Linked DNA regions of Homo sapiens: all the other regions are linked to region 2. Evidence: promoter capture Hi-C in human tissues and cell types (Jung and others, 2019). All regions are on one chromosome and are shown on one strand. Each heading gives the region's core, a stretch centred on a gene start or on the middle of the fragment in contact. The rest is flanking DNA. Distances are from core to core; before and after follow the strand shown.

The links. The method cuts DNA at HindIII sites, captures the fragments that hold promoters and counts their contacts. A contact is called where the count stands out against the background at its distance.
Region 1: a fragment that was not itself captured here is called in contact with the fragment with the promoter of SLC25A15 in region 2 in 2 of the 25 tissues and cell types used here (mesendoderm cells and thymus).
Region 3: a contact is called between a fragment that was not itself captured here and the fragment with the promoter of SLC25A15 in region 2, in 2 of the 25 tissues and cell types used here (H1 embryonic stem cells and dorsolateral prefrontal cortex).

Annotation. Positions count from the first base shown.
Region 1 is chr13:40,142,971-40,146,723 of GRCh38, forward strand. All of the region lies in intron 1 of LOC124903162, which reads right to left. Among named protein-coding and RNA genes, the nearest start is that of LINC00332, 37 kb to the right of the region's middle. The HindIII fragment of the contact is 4,577 bases long and covers 20-3,753 here.
Region 2 is chr13:40,787,684-40,791,491 of GRCh38, forward strand. SLC25A15 (solute carrier family 25 member 15) reads left to right here and starts at 1,928. Exons shown (of 7, transcript NM_014252.4): 1 at 1,928-1,980. RefSeq lists silencers at 1,498-2,077, 3,210-3,504. The HindIII fragment of the contact is 20,114 bases long and covers 1-3,808 here.
Region 3 is chr13:39,811,639-39,815,035 of GRCh38, forward strand. No RefSeq gene overlaps it. Among named protein-coding and RNA genes, the nearest start is that of MIR4305, 150 kb to the left of the region's middle. The HindIII fragment of the contact is 3,252 bases long and covers 309-3,397 here.

The DNA.
Region 1 (3,753 bases), core at 1,058-3,557, 640 kb before region 2:
CCAATTAGCTTGAGATTGAAACAACCAGAAAAGCAAAAATCTGAATGCGTCATTATAAAATGCAAACAAAGGCAGTTTGCAAATAGGCATGGGATGATGTCCTCATGAAGCAGATGGATTATAAAGTACCGAGGATGACTACCTCCTACCCCTCAAGACCTGTGCCCAGCTCCTGCATATAAGGACAGCATGACTTTTCAGCCCTTCCTAAGAACCCTTCAGCCAGAAACACTTCAAATGAGAGTACAAGAGTCTCGCTGACACCAAGCGCCAGCAAGTCCTTGTCATGTACAGCATCTGGGCAGAAGTAAGAACATCTGTTCCCAGCATGAACCTTATTAGCTTCATCATTTGGCTTTCAACCAAAAAAATGTACAATTATGATACATGGGCTTAATGGGTGGCAAGGTAGCAACTAATGCTCTGCAGCAGATGAGCTCAGGAGCAGGCGTGGCTATGGGGGTAGCGGCCATGCAGCGGGGGCAAGACACACCTAGCAGCAACAGCTCCATTACCTGGAGGCAACCTTGCAGCAACCGCAGGTTCTAGAGACAGAGGACAACTGGGGACTGGAAAGAAGAGAGAGTGAGAAAAAGGAGGGAGAACGGAAGAGGAGGAGAGAGGAGAGAAGGGGAGAAAGTGAATGAGAGGCATGAGAGTGAAGCCATAAAGACCCCACCCAGACATAAAAGTGAGGGTGAGGGAGCGGGGCAGACAAAGTAGCTCTGCCTGGCACATGGTAGAGCAGGATGTCCCACACACTAAAGCAGGGCCGCCTGGGTCTGCACCTCATCTCCACCACTTCCCTGATGTGTGCACTCAGGCAAGCTGCCTCGTCGCTTTGTGCCTTAGTTCTCTCAACCCCTGAGAGGGGAAAATCACAGCACCTACCTCAGAGGGTTGATGTGAGGGGTAAGTGTGTTACTCTGCATAAGGCACTTGAGCAGTACTTGACATGGAGCAAGCTGCCATCATCGCATCATCATCATCATCATCATCACTACTACTACTATCATCATTACTTGTAAGACTGATTTAAATACTCCTTATATACTTGCATATACTCCTTACAGCATGATGAGCTAGGTACCAGTATTATCCCCACATCGCGCAGCAAGCGTGTGGAAGTGAAAAGCTGGGCCTTAGCAATCTGCCTCTGGAGCCCGTGCTCCTTACCATCTCCCAGGCAGGACTCAACAGCCTCCCTAAGAATTGCCCTTGAGCTTGTCACTGCCATAATAAAAACAACAGAAGCAGCACAGACTAAAGCTTATGTCTGGGTTTGTTACATGGAAGGCCAAGAGCAATCTCCTTCCCTGGGCCTCCTTATTACAGGTAGCACTCCCTGCACCTAAGGAAGCAGGATTGAAATTAAGGAGACGTGGGTTTGAATCCCAGCTCCACACTCAAGAGCAGTGGGCATGCCTGCGGAGGTAAATGGCTGCCTCCTGCGCCTGCTGCTCTCTGCTGGAACCAGAATGAGACACCCCTAGGTCTGTGGTGAGGATTCAGCAGGGCTGTGGAAGTAGAGCTCTCCCAGTGTCTGGCAGTCAGCATATCATAGATCTAGCATCAGTACAAGACAGCGTGTTCCCTGTGAAAGCTGAGAAATGCTGGGAAGGGGAGACAGGAAGATAAAAGCAGGAGGACGGAGGGAAGCTTCAGCAGACGGCAGACAAGGAAGCAGCATCAGAGCGGGTGATGAGGTGGGAATGAAGGCTGTGGGAATGGAGGTCGCAGTGGAGTGAGGTGGGCTCTAGAGAAACAGGGAAGAGCTGGCCTCCTGGGAGCGAAGAACCCTGCTCACCTCAGCACCCCAGGTCTCTCCCAATTACATTATGGGTGTTCCTGATAGCAAAATAAAGTTTCAACCAAAGGCTGAATTATGTGCAAAATTCTCTATATAAGAGGTCAGGGGTTTACACCTCTTAAGAGGGCTTCTTACAAAATTGTTAAAATGTTATAGAAGGTACGTAAAGTGGGGGTATGTTACTAACATCCAAAACAAAGCAGATTATGAAGAAAGGTTCATAGTCAATGGATTCTAATAAAACTGAGGAGTTGCTGTTTGTATTTATGTATGGTCCTTCATCCTGGAAGATGCCTTCTTGGTGTTCTAGTCACCTGGGTGCTGGCATATGAATAACTGTTTAATCCTGGGCAAGTTGCCTAACCTCTCTGAGCCTCAAGTTTTTTCCATCTGTGAAAGAAGTATGAGAATAGAGCCTACCTCATAGGTGGATGTAAACATTAAACAAGAGAACGCGTGGGAAGAGGTCACATGATGCCTAGCATGTGGTGTGAACGCACCAACGTGAGCTCATAGGATTACTGCTGTTTGCATTATCATGTGGCAATGGCACAAGACAAAGTGCTGCGATGTGGCTTCAGAGTCGACACATCTAATTTCTGGAAATTAGTCAAGGAAAGCAGTCAATAACATTAACACCTCCCTCTGCCTCTCGCACCATCTGCACCAATCACAAGTCCTCTCAGCTCCACTTTATGAGAACTTCTATCTTCCACTCTGTTTCCTTCCTTCTCACTCACTGACCTCATTTGGTTTTCATCTGCCATGGGGTCTACCTCAACCAACTGCAAGGGCCTCTGCAGACATTCTTCCCTCTACTCCATTTAGTCCATTCTTCATACAGAAGCTGTGTAGCCCCTTTTTGAAGTCTCAGTTTATATTAAAATTTGATTCATCCACTTTTAAAAATTCTACTGCATAGTATAACCCCATTTGTTTTACTTTTTAAAAACCATATTTAAGTTACTTACCATTTGGTTAAATTGACACTCCCAAAACTTCCCAAACCTTCTCCAGCCAGCTCTGTAGCTAGTGCGTGTTAGGGGCTCAGCAAATGTTTGTGGACTTACACCACAGATGTAAAGAAATTTCCTAAGTAGAAATTCACATGCAAACATGATAATGACTGGGAAGTGAGGAGGGTGAGGTGATGCCTGTATTATTTCTTAATTTCCCAAGTATAGGGACAAGTATTTTCTAAGAGTCTTATAATTTAATACATATTTTTAAGATAAAATGTATGTGGGAGGATTACCTAGACACACACATAGCAGAGCATCCTTTGCTTGCTACCTGTGTCTGCTGTTTGCAAACACCATTGCTATTTCTGAGCAATGTTTCTTCACCAGGAAAGAACAGGTCCCCCAGACTCTGACAGATCACATGCTGCCCAAGGATACAACATTAAAGAACAATGACCACTGAAGTCAGGAGAAAATGCAATCATGCCCCTCCCAGGATCAAGCAACTGTCACACCCTACTCCTGCCATCTTGAGTCAGAAGGAATAAATGCAGGACGAGCTTGGGACTCTGATGTTGCCTACTTCCCTGCATCTCGGGATTTTTGCTCTTCTTGGGATTCTCGTCGGTAACACAAAATGAATAGTCCACCACTACCTGCTCAAAGCAGTGGACTGGCTCAGTCATGATTTGCTAGCAGTTTCAAAACACAAAACGATATTGCTGAGACTGACTGCCAAGAAGCAGGGTTTATCCTGTATCTCTTCTCCCCCGTGGGTGAGAAAAGAGAGCATCAGGTTTGTGGGATCCAAAGTTGCAAGCAGTGATTTATTTACTCTTAGCAACCATGGCTGAAGCTTAGTGACATCTGTAAGCTGAACATTCTCATCAAGTGTGTGTTTTATTGAACCGTTTGCCCTCAGGGTGCTGCAGGCTTAGTTGACATCCTGCTTGAAGCTGACAACTCACACTCCACCATCCA
Region 2 (3,808 bases), core at 678-3,177:
ACCCATTGGGCAGTTACATCACTGTGTTGCCCAGGTTCAACTCGAACTCCTGGGCTCAAGCAATCCTCCTGCCTCAGCCTCCCAACATGTTGGGATTACAGGCATGAGCCACCACACCCAGCCAAGTCTGTCCTTAATCAGGGTTCCTTTGGGTCTCATTTTCTGAAGCTGCAAAAGCTATTGGACCAGGTGACATTGCCAACCCCTTTAAGCTGCTGTAACTGTAGTTTCAGCTGCTGGATCTGCTTTCAGTTAGTTATGTTCCCCATCACTTTGGACAAGTCATCCCAACTCCCTGGCTTGTTTTTGTAACTCGATTACAGTCCAGAAGCCCAAGTTCTAAAGTGCTGATTCTGATGAGTGTCCATGTACCAGGCACTCTGATCCCATCATAGCATCTACTACAGCCTGGGAGGTCTACTCAAGTGTGCATTCATGTTAAGCACTAACACCAATTAAATCACTTAAATAACGTAGGTAATTATCCAATAGCACATCCAGACGTGGTGGCTCACACGTGTAATCCCAGCACTTTGAGAGGCCGAGGCAGGCAGATCACCTGAGGTCAGGAGTTCGAGACCAGCCCGGCCAAGGTGGTGAAACCCTGTCTCTACTAAAAAATACAAAATTAGCTGGGTGTGGTGGCGCATGCCTGTAATCCCAGCTACTTGGGAAGCTAAGGCAGGAGAATCGCTTGAACCCAGGAGGGGGAGGTTGCAGTGAGCTGAGATTGCACCATTGCACTCCAGCTCGGGTGACAGAGTGAGACTCTGTCTCAAAAAAAAAAAGAAAAAAAAAGAAAAAAATAATAATCCAACAGCACATCTAAACAAGGCTTAAAGTTGTAAAATAAAATTACACTGTGTGGAGGGTGTGTGTGTGTGTGTGTGTGTGTGTGTGTGGGTGAGAGAGAGAGAGAGAGAGAGATGAGGTCTCTGTCATCCAGGCTGGAGTGCAACAGTGCCATCATAGCTCACTGCGGCCTCCAATTCCTGGCCTCAAGCGATCCTCCCGCCTTGGCCTCCCAAATAGCTAAGAATAGAGGCATGTGTCACCACACCTTTTTTTTTTTGTCGTTGTTTGTTTGTTTTTATGAAACGGAGTCTCGCTGTGTAGCCCAGGCTGGAGTGTAGTGATGCAATCTTGGCTCACTGCAACCTTCACCTCCCAGATTCAAGCGATTCTCCTGCCTCAGCCTCCCTAGTAGCTGGGGTTACAGACACGCACCACCACGCTGGATAAATTTTTGTAATTTTAGTACACGGGGTTTCACCATGTTGGCCAGGCTGGTCTTGGACTCCTGACCTCAGGTGATCCGCCTACCTCGGCCTCCCACAGTGCTGGGATTACAGGCGTGAGCCACCATGCCCGGCTAATTCCTGTATTTTCATACTTAGTTGTATTTCCTATTAGGGCCTTGGATCCCGAGTATAATTTTGTACTCAAATATAATTTATAAATAAGGCCTTAGCCTCCCAACAAGGTCAAAGTAGCTAAAAAGTAAGTCCTCCCAACCACTGACATTACCAGCCCCCAGCCCCCAGTCCCAGCCCAGCGGGCTAACAAGGGTCCGGCCTCAGAGAGGGTCTCGGGGATCCCAGAGGTGGGAAAGTCTCCGGAGGCGCAGGCCCCGCTCTCCACCTTCACCAGGGTCGGCGGCAGCACCACGCCGGGTCGCGGGCTGGCTGTGCGCGCCGCGGCCCCACGCCCACTTCCGCTTCCCGTGCTGGGGGCGGTGGCAGGGCCGGTGGGCGGTGGCGGCTCCCGGTCTCGGCTCGGGCACGGCCCTGGGCAGGCCGCCCGCCAGCCGCAGGGGCGCTCCTGAGCTTCGCGGGGCCGCAGTCCGGGATGCCTGCGCGAAGGGAGGGGCGAAGGGCCGGCCGTTGCCGACGTGGGTGTTAAGTGGCCGCCCCAGCCGGCGACCCGGAGCCGAGAGCGGGCGGCGGAGCCTGAGCTGGACGCGGCCACGCCGGCGCGGCGGTGAGCGCAGCCCGGTCTGGCGCCTGCAGCTGCGGGGAGCGCGCCAGGCAGAGGGAGCGGGGAGCGGGGCGCGGGGCGGGCCTCGGTGTGCGGGCGGCGTGACCTTCCCGAGCGGCGGGGGAAGCGGCCAGCGTCGCAGCGCACGTGCCGCGGGACTCGGAGAATCTCGGGGTTGTCGGCCTCCTTCCTGCAGTGCCCACCTGGTGGGAACTTTTGTCCTTGTTTGCCCCCAAGTCCTGTCATTTGGCTGCGGGGCTCCGCGCCTCAGGGGCGCCAGTGCTGGGCAGCATGGAGCCGCTTGTGAATGGAGACTTGCTGGCTGCCCAGGAGTGGGCGGCTGGGCAGGGGCGGTGAACGTTTAGGGTCCGGCCAAGAAAGTTGGAAGTCGTCTCCCTGACCTGTTCCTTGCGAGGCCCGGGAGGAGACGCGCCTGGCCGGTCCTTGGCGGCGAAACTGATTTGCATCTCCACGCTTTACCTAAAGCCCGGGCTCTGGGGACTGGATGGCGAGCTGGCCTGCGGCTCCTTTAGCCAGAAGCTGGGATCTTCCCGCAGCAGTTCGTGTTCCCTGGTGGAAAATGCAGCCTCATCTACTGACTCTCCCTTCCAAAAAAAAGTTATTTTCCCCAAGGGTCGAGAAAAGTGGGTGGTCGGCACTGTTGTTCCTCAGTTGCACCCTGGTGTAATTTGAGAGAGGGGTCAAAGGCGCTGAAAAGATTCTTTTTTCTATTCCAAGTGCTACAGCAAGCTCATAAATCAATTTTAATTCATGCTGAACAGTCTTGCCTCCTCCAAGCCCTGTGTCTTCTCCAAGCCAGAGCTACACATAATGTGAATTAGCTGCCCACTCCTTCTGAGTGAATCTGTTAGTACCCATCATCGTTTTCTATCCTAATAATTCTAATGGCTATTTGTAGAATTTATTTGTTTGTTTATTTTTTTGAGACGGAGTTTCGCTCTTGTTGCCCAGGCTGGAGTGCAATGGGGCGATCTCGGCTCACCGCAACCTCCGCCTCCTGGGTTCAAGCTATTCTCCTCCCTCAGCCTCCCGAGTAGCTGGGATTACAAGCATGGCCCACCACGCCAGGCTAATTTTGTATTTTTAATAGAGACGGGGGTTTCTCATGTTGGTCAGGCTGGTCTCGAACTCCCGACCTCAGGTGATCCGCCCGCCTTGGCCTCCCAAAGTGCTGGGATTACAGGCGTGAGCCACTGTGCCTGGCCTATTTGTAGAATTTAATGTGTTTAAGTTTGGCTCACCTAACAGGGTTTAATTCTTAGGGACAGATAGAATGTAATGTGATGTGACTTTCCTTCAAAATTAAGAAGGAAGTGTCTGTGCCAAAAGAAATAAGCGCATTGAGGTTTATCTAGGAGGCCACATTGTACTTGCCTCTGTCTGTCTGCTCAGTTGCCCCCGTTTTTTTCTTTCCCAAAAATATAGGGTTGGGTGTTTTGTGTTGCCTTTGGCCAGGTTGAAATACTCAGATTAACGGTTGGTTTGTAGGCACAGGCCTGAAAAGACAGGACTTTGAACTGAATCCTCTGTCACTGACAGTTGTGTGGCCTTGGAGAAGACCTTGTCTTGCTCCAGGCTTTAGTTTGCCTTCTGGGAAAGGATTAGGACCCTGATAAACTTTTTATTTATTTATTTATTTATTTATTTATTTATTTTATTTTTTATTTTCTATTATTATTATTATTTTTTTTTTTGAGACAGAGTCTCACTTTGTTGCCCAGGCTGGAGTCCAGTGGCACAATCTCGGCTCACTGCAACCTCCACCTCCCGGGTTCAAGTGAATCTTCTGCCTCAGCCTCCTGAGTAGCTG
Region 3 (3,397 bases), core at 685-3,184, 980 kb before region 2:
ACTCCCATAATGTAATGTATTCCCAAAGGTCCCACCTCCAAATATATACATTTGCATATAAAAATATCACATTGGGAATTAAGGTTTCAATATATGAATTTGGGGGGGCACAAAGGTTCAGTACGCAGCAGGTGGAGTGGCATTGGAGGGCTCCTGCAGGGCCTGGCCGAGGCAGTGATGAGTGGTACTGGTGACAGCAGTGGCCCTAGAGGCACAGTGGGAAACTGCACACCAGTGGGTACCAGAGGTGGAGGTGGAGAGCTTCATGCGGTTTTAGGGAACTGACGCCTGGACATAGATGGTCCTAATGGAGGCTCAGATGGGAGAGGAAATATAACTGCGGGGAGTCACACAGGGGAGCCAAAAGGAATGTCAGTGAGAATGAGAGAACCCCAGGGATTCCCATTTATAATTAAAGGAGATGGGGAGGTTCCTACAACCACACAGGGGTTAACATAAAGCAGCAAAATCAAGATGATATTAATATTAATATGACACCACTGTGAATCTCTGAAAAACATGGTTTATAGCTGTAAGAAAGAAATGTTGACCTAATTTATCTCCACCATCATTTAACTGGGAGAAATAAGAAATTATTCCTGTTACTTGTATGAGTCTGTGTTTGTGGCAGAAAGGGTCCAGGTGACCTCCTGGGGATCTGATTCCAATCTGAGTGAGTATTTGAGTTTGAGCCATTCAGACACGTGTGAAACTTATCCTTTTGGATTTCCTGATGCTTTCCCATTGGCAAACACTAGCTCAAGTCACCAAAAATATCATACAACAATTGCACATTTCCCATCCCCTTGCTGTTTGCTTTCTGTGCCTCCTAGGACTTTGCTGAGCAGCCACGCTGCACAACTGCCTGTTCCAGCCCCACATCTGGGCATCTTGTGGAACCTCTGTTTGTCGTAGGGGTCTCTCCTCTGCTGCTTTGTGGGGAGGCTCAGCTTATATCATGTGACTCTTGAACCCTGGGCTTTTCCAACAGATTCTTGTGACAATTTTTAGCTCCAATTGTCACCATTGCTTTAAACCTGCTCATCAAGGCCTGCAGCATCCTGGGTGATGCATCTCCTTTCTTAGGGTTTCTTTGTTGTTGTTGTTTGTGCTAACTTTTCACCCAGGCTCTAATATCTGTGTAGAACCACTTGAAAAAAAGAAAATTAAATTTTGTTTTCTCAAGAGACATGCCTGCCTCTCCTGGGGCTGCCAAAACACGCTGATTGTTCTTGGGTAAAACTCCTCCACTGCACAAAGTAAGTGGGACTCAAGCTGTAAATACACCCCATTCACCACCAGATCCCATTTTAACTTTGCAAAAAGCTTGCTTAATTCAGACAGGTACATTTATTTGTGTGCCCGGTCCCATAGTAGATTCAAAGTATCAGACATGTTCCCCAATGTCAGAGACTTTGCAATCTGGCTCATCTAAGAAAACATGGGGGTTAAAAAGAACTAACAACAGTGTTAGAAAAACCGATGCTCAATACTTTCTATCTCTTACTGACAAGTCTTTAACACCTTAAATGTAGTAGTCACTGCAAAAGTCTCTCCTTTTTTGTTCTTCTGTCTCTTGGCTTTCTTACCCTGAATCTAGATCTAACATTAACATGCCACTGCATAATCTAGAGCTTATGCACTGTATGACCTTTAGCAAGTTACTTAATTTTGTCATGTCAGTTTTTCATATGTAAGATGGAAGGAATGGATGTTTTCTTATAAATTCGAAAATCAATGTGAGGAACTTAGCCTCTTTTAATTTTTTTTTTTTTTTGAGATGGAGTTTTGCTCTTGTTGCCCAGGCTGGAGTGCAATGGAGTGATCTCAGCTCACTGCAACCTCTGCCTCCCAGGTTCAAGTGATTCTCCCACCTCAGCATTCCAAGTAGCTGGGATTACAGGTGCCCGCCACCATGCCCAGCTAATTTTCATGTTTTTAGTAGAGATGGGGTTTCACCATGTTGGTCAGGCTGGTCTCAAACTCCTGACCTCAAGTGATCCACCCTCCTCGGCCTCCCAAAATGCTGGATTATAGGCGTGAGCCACCGTACCCAGTGCCTCATTCTTGATAAATAACATTTATTGACTTGGCAAACAGCCAATAAGTATTAGCTATTGTTAGTGTATTAGAAATATTGTGAATTGCCATCCTCATCATTTTATTTGTCCATAGATGAGATAATGTCAATAGTTCCCATTCCACAGTTCATGGCAGTGTGCATGGTACTTTATACAAGCTGGAGCAGCTGCTCAGATGGTAGAACTCATTGGCTTGGGTGGCTTTCTTTTTTCTTAGCTGATGATTGATTGATTCGGAATCATGAGGGAAGAGGAGGGTAAACGATTCCATGCCACAAAGTCTTGGGGACCTGACCATAGTTTTAGTAATGGAGTCAAGTGGCCACTCTTCATCACAGGTATGTTCTGTCGTCCTTTAAACATGAGGTTGTCACTGCTGGAAGAATTTCCTTTTAGCAACTGTACTATTAAATCTTAAATTATATGTGTGCGGCTCTTTGACGTTTTCATTGTACTTTTGCATATATTTGCTTATCCTGTTTTACAGGTGATGAAATTGTGGCTTAAAGAAGTAACTGCACTCTTCCCCCTTCAAAAAAATGGGGCTGAAGTAGAATGCAGATATTTTAAACTCTATATTAAAAACTATCCTCTATGACATTGTGGCCTTCTCTTTAATATCAGGTCCCATTGGACATTACTCCCTTAACAGCTATTTCTTTTCTTTTCACCTTACATATTTTCTCTTTCTTTTGGGCAGAGTTCCCTCATTTTGTATTGATGTTGATTATGGAAGACTTAGCAGTAATTTAAGAATCAATTACTTATATTATCTTTTTTTGGTTTTGGGATGACAGAAAAAAATGTATTCCTTAAAGAACAAGGCTTTAGTGTGAAAATATAATATACACTGAAAAGGGGCTTGTTCCTTTTCAGATTGACGTGAGCACATATCTGGAGTTGATTGTTCCGTTCTGACACCCCCTCAGACTAGGCATTTGGCACTCATTTCTATAATGCCCACTATTACACATATATTTTAAAGTTATTGTTGATGATAAGAATATAAATATCGACTAATAAAAATTTTCTGGAGAAATACATATGCATGTGTGTAGATGTATATTTATACCTGTGTATACATATATTCATGCATTTATTTTAAAACATACATTTGCATGCAAAAAATACAAATGACTCCAATAGAATGATATGATTCTAAACCGAAGCTTTTTTATTTTTACTGTTTTAGGCAAATGTTTACTTTTTACTGCACTTCTATGGCTGCTTTCTTTTGTGTTTCAGACTGTGACTGCCATGGTTTTCTGCTCAGCATAAAATTTCTATCTGTGTAAAATTATTCTGATTGCTACCTG